Linked DNA regions of Homo sapiens: region 1 is linked to region 2. The links are contacts of gene promoters, found by promoter capture Hi-C in blood cells and fetal thymus (Javierre and others, 2016). All regions are on one chromosome and are shown on one strand. The core of a region is centred on a gene start or on the middle of the fragment in contact, and the rest is flanking DNA. Distances in the headings are between cores, read along the strand shown. Region 1 overlaps TNS3 (tensin 3). Region 2 holds the start of SUN3 (Sad1 and UNC84 domain containing 3).

Evidence for each region. Contacts are between HindIII fragments. The CHiCAGO score rates a contact against its expected background, and 5 or more counts as called.
Region 1: a fragment that was not itself captured here is called in contact with the fragment with the promoter of SUN3 in region 2 in 1 of 17 cell types (naive B cells); the score reaches 5.7 in naive B cells.

Annotation. Positions count from the first base shown.
Region 1 is chr7:47,290,950-47,295,249 of GRCh38, forward strand. It overlaps TNS3 (tensin 3), which reads right to left. Exons shown (of 31, transcript NM_022748.12): 25 at 2,784-2,879; 26 at 1,879-1,956; 27 at 1,006-1,083. Among named protein-coding and RNA genes, the nearest start is that of SNORD151, 170 kb to the right of the region's middle. RefSeq lists enhancers at 531-890, 2,114-3,313. The HindIII fragment of the contact is 2,934 bases long and covers 866-3,799 here.
Region 2 is chr7:48,027,846-48,031,664 of GRCh38, forward strand. SUN3 (Sad1 and UNC84 domain containing 3) reads right to left here and starts at 1,262. Exons shown (of 10, transcript NM_001030019.2): 1 at 972-1,262. The coding sequence starts at 1,093. RefSeq lists an enhancer at 453-1,652. The HindIII fragment of the contact is 1,156 bases long and covers 1,256-2,411 here.

The DNA.
Region 1 (4,300 bases), core at 1,083-3,582, 740 kb before region 2:
GAATGGGTTACTAAACTGATACACCCAGACAAGGAAATATTTGCTGCTAAAAAAAAATGAGCTATCAAGCCATAAAAACACATGGAGGAAACTTAAATGCATATGACTAAGTGAAAGGAGCCAACCTCAAAAGGCTATGAACTGTATGGTTTCAACTATATGACAATACTGGAAAAGTTGAAAATATGGAGACAATAAAAATATGAGTGGTTGCTTGGGGTTGGTGGGGGAGGGAGAACGAACAGAAAAGGCACAGAGGATTTTTAGGGCAATAAAACTATTCACTATGATACTGTAACGGTGATTACCTGTCATTATGCATTTGTCCAAACCTGTAGAATGCATGACATCAAGGTGAACCTAAATATCAAGTCCCTAAACTAGGGACTCAGGTGACGAGGCTGTGTTAATGCAGGTTCATCAACCATAACATGTGCATCACTTTGCTGGGGGATGTTGACAGCGGGGAGGCTATGCGTGTATATGGTGTATCTCTGTACCTTCTTCTCCATTTTGCTGTGAATCTGTCACTGCTCTAAAAAAGAAACTCTATGAATAATTTTTTTAAGTGACCTGCTCTGTCTGGCGAGCTGGTTCTTGGGTGTTGTATGTCTCACTGGGGTTGCTGGCAGTGTGGGTCAAATCATTGACTCATGTCAAGTGACTTGTTGAGTCATGTCTCTGGAACATTTTTACATTTACAGTTGCCGAGACAGATCACCCACATCCTGTCTTACTATATTTTCCCCCAAACTAAATCCAGGGCTTGACATTTATTCCACTGAATTTAGTCTTGCTTGAGTTAGACCGGCCCATGAAGGCCTTGCTGATGTCCCAACAACTGCACCCCACCCAGCTCTGTGCAAGCTTCTATAAAAGGAAACCTCCTTCAAGGCTCACAGAAAAGAAAGGAAACCTGAATACTGAAGTGCAAAAGGAAGTTGTGTCAGTGAGTCCTTTTTCTCCCCAGTCACCAGATGTAGAAATGGAGCTGCATTTACTGACCTGCCCCCTGCTTCAACAGCTCAGCTGCTGAATTGGCTGCCGTCTGGGGAGAACTTTCTGCTATTTCCTCCAATGGATCTGTAGGAAGGGGCAAGAAAATACAGAAATGAGTCCTGCTCCTGACCAAGAATCCTCATGACAAAGTTAGACAATTTGATGACAGAATTCCCAGATGGTGACATGCAATGGTTTTGCAGAGTCAAGAGTTTCTCTTTGGGACAATAATTTGGCCCATAGAAACCATGATCACATTCTGAATAAAAGTAGAGATGACAAGGCCTAACAAAATATTTTTCTAATCACCGAATTAGTCATATGAACAATGACACTTTGAAAAGTAAATCACATTTACCTATATATTAAGTTAGACCATTTTTATGTGAAGTTGTGACTGCTTAGGAAAGTGGGACATACGGTCACATCGCCCTGACATGCTGTGGGTGTTATTTAATTTCATTATGGATATTGTTTAACAAACATAAAAGTAAAAAGAACAGTGCATCCATCATCTAAGTTCAACAACATCAACATTTTGCCCATTCCGTAGAAACGTAAAAATTAAATGTCAATGACCCTGAAGCCTTCTTTGTCTGAGGGTTTTATATTTTTAAACTACAGAATCTTTGCTCTATAGAAATCTTTCATCAAAATCCATGATGTAAAGCTATCTGGGAGCTGTCAGTGAAGTAGAATCTCCTCTTCTCTCCTTAATTTGGATGAACTCATTGGCCTTTTCTTGGGTTCAACCAAGAGAATACGAAAAAACTTCCAGTCTTATTATTTTTCTCAGTGGATCTTCATGGATCTCTAAAACCGGTGGCCTTGACTGCAGACAATCTACACAGAGCCTGACTAGCACTGAGGACCCCTTACCTCTCTCTGGGATAAGCAGCTTGCACGGCAAGGCCAAGGGCGTGATGGAATGCTGGCACACCAAGGCCGTCAGGCTCCCTGCAAAGTGGACAGACAGCAAACAAGAGTCAACAACTGCTGTAGATGTTGTGTGCTCAGCCAATTTATCAGCTGGAATGAAACGGATGCAAAGGCTGAGCCCTTATCTTTTTAGCAACTGGTATGTTAGATTAGTGTGCAGCTTTGTGTAAAACTTCAAAGAAGTATAAAGTTCCACAAGATAGTTGAGAGGTAAGTAAATGGAACTGTTTATCATTCTTATCATAGACACATCATTACCAAATTATATAAAGACTAAAGCATACAGTTTGTTGGATCTTGAATCAGGAGGGTTGACATCAAGCCAACTCCAACTTCAACCATATATATTACCCCTGCACAATGCTTCTTAACAAAGCTCTAATAACAATGATGCCTAAGGCTGCACTGTGCTTTGTGTGGATTGCTCAAGTCATCTTTCCAACAAGCTCGTGAGGTAGGGAAGGCTCCCAATTTGCAGGGAAGGGAGGGTGCTCTGTTGGGAGCTCTATGTTGTTCCTTGTGCTGTGGGATAGGGTCATGCTGGAGCTCCAACCTTCTCAGGACTTACCTGCCTGCCAACTAGGATAGAATCTTATTGACGTCTGTAATTCCTACGTCTGATATGGTGCTTTTCATTTGTTTGGTTTTGACAGAGCTTTTAAGAACAACTTCAAATCTAGTTTATCTTAAAGATAATAATGCAGATCAGCAGGATTTCAGAACTGGGGACTGAAATATGAGTAAACCACCATAAGAGTGATAGTCCCAAATCTCAGGTTGGTGAGCAGAGGGAATCCAGGCCTCATGAGTTCAGAACATTGACAGCAACCTCTCAAGCAACTCACCGAAATATGGTTCATTCGAGCACCCTTTCAACCGCACTCCCTTCGGGGTACACTCGATCAAAAAGTGCCGGACGAGTTCATTGGCCAAATCTCCAGCTGTGGCAAGAAATTTAAAGAAAGAAGAATTTTTTGAAAATGGGAGCATGGGAGAATTCAATAGAGAGAACATAAAAGCCAGGAGCTACAGTTGAAAAGGCTCTTCTCTGAATACGAGTCCAGTCACTGCAAAAGAGGCTGCCAAGAACCATCTTCGTCCTAGGAATGGTAGCCGGGCTGCAGGACAGCTGGATGAGCACAGGCTAGGCCAGATACAGGGCGGGAACCCTTGCAATGACAGTGTGGGGGCTGGAGAGGTCCCTTGGGAGAGGCCCTCAAACATTGTGCAAGAATCCCCAACGAAGGGAATGAGCTTGCAGCTAAGAAAGAGGATCATGAATCTCCAGCTGAATCCTCTCCCAAAGAGGAGAGGTGAGAAAGGCTCAGACACAAAATGATACCTATAATGAATCACTGAAAAGAGCTGGAAGGAGGTCAGTCTTCTGGGTGGGATTTAACCAGGAGCCTGGATCTTTAAAACCTTCCAGAAAGCAAGCACTCAGCTGCACGGGAGCAGCACTCTACCACATTGCTATTAACAGTAAACAGTGCATCTGCTTTAGGCCAGCCCATGAGTCCAAAGAGAAAACACATCATAAAAAGCCACTGAATGGCAAAACTATCTGAGAGTGGAAAAGTACAAACAGCACAACCAAAAGAACAAGAAGTCACTGCCCTATGCTAATGAGTCCAACAGACCTTCACAGTGTGCTGTATTTCTGGGATCCAGTGCTTCCTTCATCACCCTCCATTGGGGCATGTCTGCCTAAACTTCTAATATTTCTGGTGTTGGAAACCTCCTGGCAGCAAGATCCACTGGAGTTGGGCTTGGTCCCCAGTGCCTTGCCCACAGTAGGCTTCCAAAAGATGTTTATAAACATGACAAATATCACTGTGTCAGCATTTCACAAGGGCAGTAAAGCTTGCAGAAAAGGAAATGATCAGATTCCATAAAAGGCTGTGTTGAATTAAAGTGGGATAAGAACATATTGACATTCAGTTGTGGGAAGAAAATGACGCCTGGCTTCCAAACTGAAGGGGACACCAAGCGTGGGTCTGGATTCCACTTGTGAGAAATGGCTCAGTGGGAAGTCCTTCTGGCCAGGGCTCTCTGGAGAACAGCATCCAGAACGTCCCTAGCTGTCCCATCTCCAGTTTACTGGAGGTGGTATGGTGAATGGTTGTGGCTCTTTATGACCTGGTAAACTCTTTGCTCAAATCTATCCTTGGATTGTGAAATCTGAATGTCAAATCCAGGGACAAGATGAAGACACAGCAGTCAGATAAGATTTCACCCAGAGGCCACCAACAACACTCGGTTTCCTCAAGTCTGCTATTCTAATATCCCCTATTTTGTTCCTTTCATCTTAAGATTGAGTCCAAAGTCTGTCAGAGAGGCAGGATGCACGCACAGAGGTAAA
Region 2 (3,819 bases), core at 12-2,511:
TGGTAGGGGGTCCACTGTATTAAAAAAGTTGTTCATAGGTCAGTTATGGTCTACAAGAGCTCTTTTGGTGGGCTGCATTAAGTGAAAATTATCACATTACCATATTTACCAAAGATTAACTCCAGTGTTTTTCGTTTTTTGTTTTTCACTAGAAAACTGGCTGCCAGGCTCTGCATTGCAAAATTCCTTCGGTGCCTTCACCCAGCCAGTGGGATTCTGCCATTTGGGGCAAGCATATTTTGTTATTACTGTGATTTTGAAATGCTGCTCTACTTGTACTAATAACTTTGTAGCATTCCTTTTATTTTTATTGACAGTTTTGTTCTGTGCAAGTGCTTCATTGTTACCAATAGGAAGGTTATTTCATTACTTGTAGTTTTTGTTTTCCCAGCAGGCAGCACATGGGCAGGGCGTTTGTAAATAGGTTTAGGGTATTTGGATTCCCTGCTATAATAATCCCCACATATGTTCTCACTAGAGGAAACAGGGTGATTCACTCAAAATGTGCATCCCCTACCAGAGTCTTTAGTCAATTATCACCCAAGAATGTAATAAATGCCACTCTGTGCCCAGAGTCCTGAGCCCGGTGCTAAGCTCTGCATACCACCAAGACTATACAAGCTAGCCCAATGACAAAAAAAAAAAAAAAAAAAAAAAAAAAAAGTGAATTATCTGGAAGCTTTTAAGTTCCTGCTGCTGTGGCTCATTCTTTTAAAGAGGGTGGCTCTCCTTTCTTAATCCTTCTCCCAAGTCTGCTGTTATTAATCCAGATACCGTTGACATAGAAGTATTGTGATCAAGTGTAAGACTGTGATGAAGAGAAACCTTCAAAGGAAACTATTGAAAATGATTTTCTCTATAAAGGGAGAAAATACTGTCGGGTAACAGGTAACAGATGAACAGACACAAGTGACAGATGTAACACATAAAACCTACAATTTCAGGCACACCGTTCTGCCATGTTTACCTACCCATTCGCATCAGGATTTTCGTCCTCTGATAACAAAGCATTGCCACTGGCGCTACCGCTGGCGTCTTCAGAGCAACGTCTAAAAAACATGGCAGCCCTTCTTGCCTTTGTTTTTCCACTCATGATCCCCTACCAAAGAACAAACAGCTGGTAGGATGAAGAGCAACATTTGTCCTCATTCCTATTTTATGAAAAACATGAAGCTATACATACAGTTTCTAAATTTGTTTTGTATAATGTCTTCTTCCTCCACGGGTGTTTCTTCTTGAAGACGGAATTTTGAAAAGCTTCTGATTCTTCTGTTGCATCATCCTCCGTGACACCTCATAATGCAGATGGCCACCACGCCCAGCCAGGGCATGGACAGGCAACCACCTCTCTGCTTCAAGGGCCTAATTGTACCATATGTCACACCCACTGAATAATACAAAGGCCCCCCCATGTACCTACCGCTTTTCGATAGCAAATCTGGATGTTTTGCTGTGTTTGCTTCAGTGCTTTTCTAATAAAGAAAATATCAGAAATATAATAGTAGACCCCCAAGTATCCCTGAATCTCAGCACTCTTATTTTCCACAGATAACTACAACCTGAAAATTGATATACTCTATTCTCATTATTTTTGATACTTTACTATGTAAATCTGTATCTATAAATAATACCATTTTCATGCTTAAAACATAAACTAAATGTTATGCCACTCTAGGTTTTCTTACAATATTATTTATCTTGAGACATTAACTCCACTCATTTTAATTGCTCTATGGTATTTCATTATACATACATCACAATTCATTTACCCATCCTTCTGTAAATGTATGCTTAGGTTGTTTTCAGTTTTTTTGGCAAGGAATAATGCTCATTGCACGTTGTTATATGCACATCACAAGGTTTTTCTAAACATACACCTAGAAACAGAATAGTTAGGTGGAAGGATGAGCTGGTTTATTTGGGGCATAAATTCTACGATGACAGTCATTTCACTCTCAGCACTTTGGAGATACTACTCCATGGCCTTGTGGATTGATTGTTGTTGATGAGAATTCTGTCTTATCTTCATTTCTCTGTTTTTTTTGGCAATTTCTCGCGTAGTTTTTAAGATTTTCTGTTTATCCATATTTTCCAGTTGTATTTTAGTGTATCCAGGTTTGATACTAGTTTTTGTTTTTCCTCACTTATAACTCAGAGAGTCTTTTCAATTTGGGTACTTGTGTGTTTTTTCAGTTCTGGACTATTTTTCAGCCATCAGGGCTTCAAATATTGCTTCTCTGCCACTGCCTCAATTTTCTTAGAATGGTCCACCTATTGACACTTGTGTCTCCCTTTTGCTTTCCGTTCAACTGCTCCTTCATATTTGTTTTTGCTTTTTTCTCTTTTTACTTATGCTGATTTCTGGGTGAATTTGTAAGTGTTATTTTTCAATTTACTACTTATTTTCTGAAAGCTTAGATTTATACCAAGAAACCCCCAAGTTTCTACTTTTTTACCTACTAGTCCAAAATTCGAAAGTTACAAAATGGTACACAGCAAATATGGCCTTTCCACCCGGCATCTGCCTTCTAGCTATTGGTTCCCCTCTCTTTTAGCATCTATGCTACCATTTATAGTATTTCCTTTCAAAGATGTGATACACATGCACAGTATGTGACATTGTATTATATATGTAATATTTTATAGGTATATTTATCTCTCCACATTCCTAATGGTAGCTTACTATAAACTGTGCTCTGCATCTTGCTTCTTTCCCTTAAACATGTATCTTGGAAGTTGTTTTGATTGTTTGAGATAATCTTCCTCATTTATTTATGACTGAATAGTGTTTCATTGGGTGAATGGGCCATAGGCTATTTAGCCTGTCTCATATTGATGGGCAGTTTGGTATTTAAAATAATGTGCAATAGTAATCTTGTATTTAAGTTATTATCCATATGTGTGAATATATCTTTAAGGATATATACCCAGAGGAGGAACTTCTGGGTCAAAGTCTATGTGTATTTTTCAAGAATAAATCCGCACATATACAGCCAACTAATCATTGATAAGTTTGTCAGGTGTACACAATAAGGAAAGGACACTGTAGTCTCTTCAATGAATGGTGCTGGGAAAAGTAGATATTCACATGCAAAAGAATTAAATTGGACAGTTATCTTACACCATACCCAAATAATACCTTGAAATAGATAAAAGACTTAAACATAAGACCTCTAACCATAAAATTCCTAGAAGAAAACAAGGAAAAAATCTCCCTGACATTGGTCTTGACAATGACTTTTTAAATATGACATCAAAAGCACATGCAAAAATAAATAAGTGGAACCACATCAAACCAAAAACCAAAAAGCTTTTGCACAGCAAAGGAACTTAATAACAAGAAAACAAATAACTGAATTTAAAAGTTGGCAAAGGTCCTAAATAGACATTTTTTTCCAGAGAAGACATACACATTGCCAACAGGCATGTGAAAAGCTACTCAACATCATTAATCATCAGGGAAATGTAAATCAAAACAACAATGAGATATCACCTCACAGCTGTTAGGATGGCTATTATAAAAAAGATAAACAGCTAGTGTTGCACAAAGTGGTACACGCCTGTAATCCCAGCTACTCGGGATGCTGAGGCAGGAGGACTGCTTGAGCCCAGGAGTTTGAGACCAGCCTGGGCAACATAGCCAGACCCCATATTTTAAAGAAATTGTTAATCTTAAAACAAACAAACAAAAATATATAAAGATAAGTGTAGGCAAGAATGCAGAGAAAATGTAACCCTTGTATACTGTTGGTGGGATGTAAATTGGTATACTCATTATGAAAAACAGTATGGAAGTGCCTTAAAAAATTAAAAATAGAA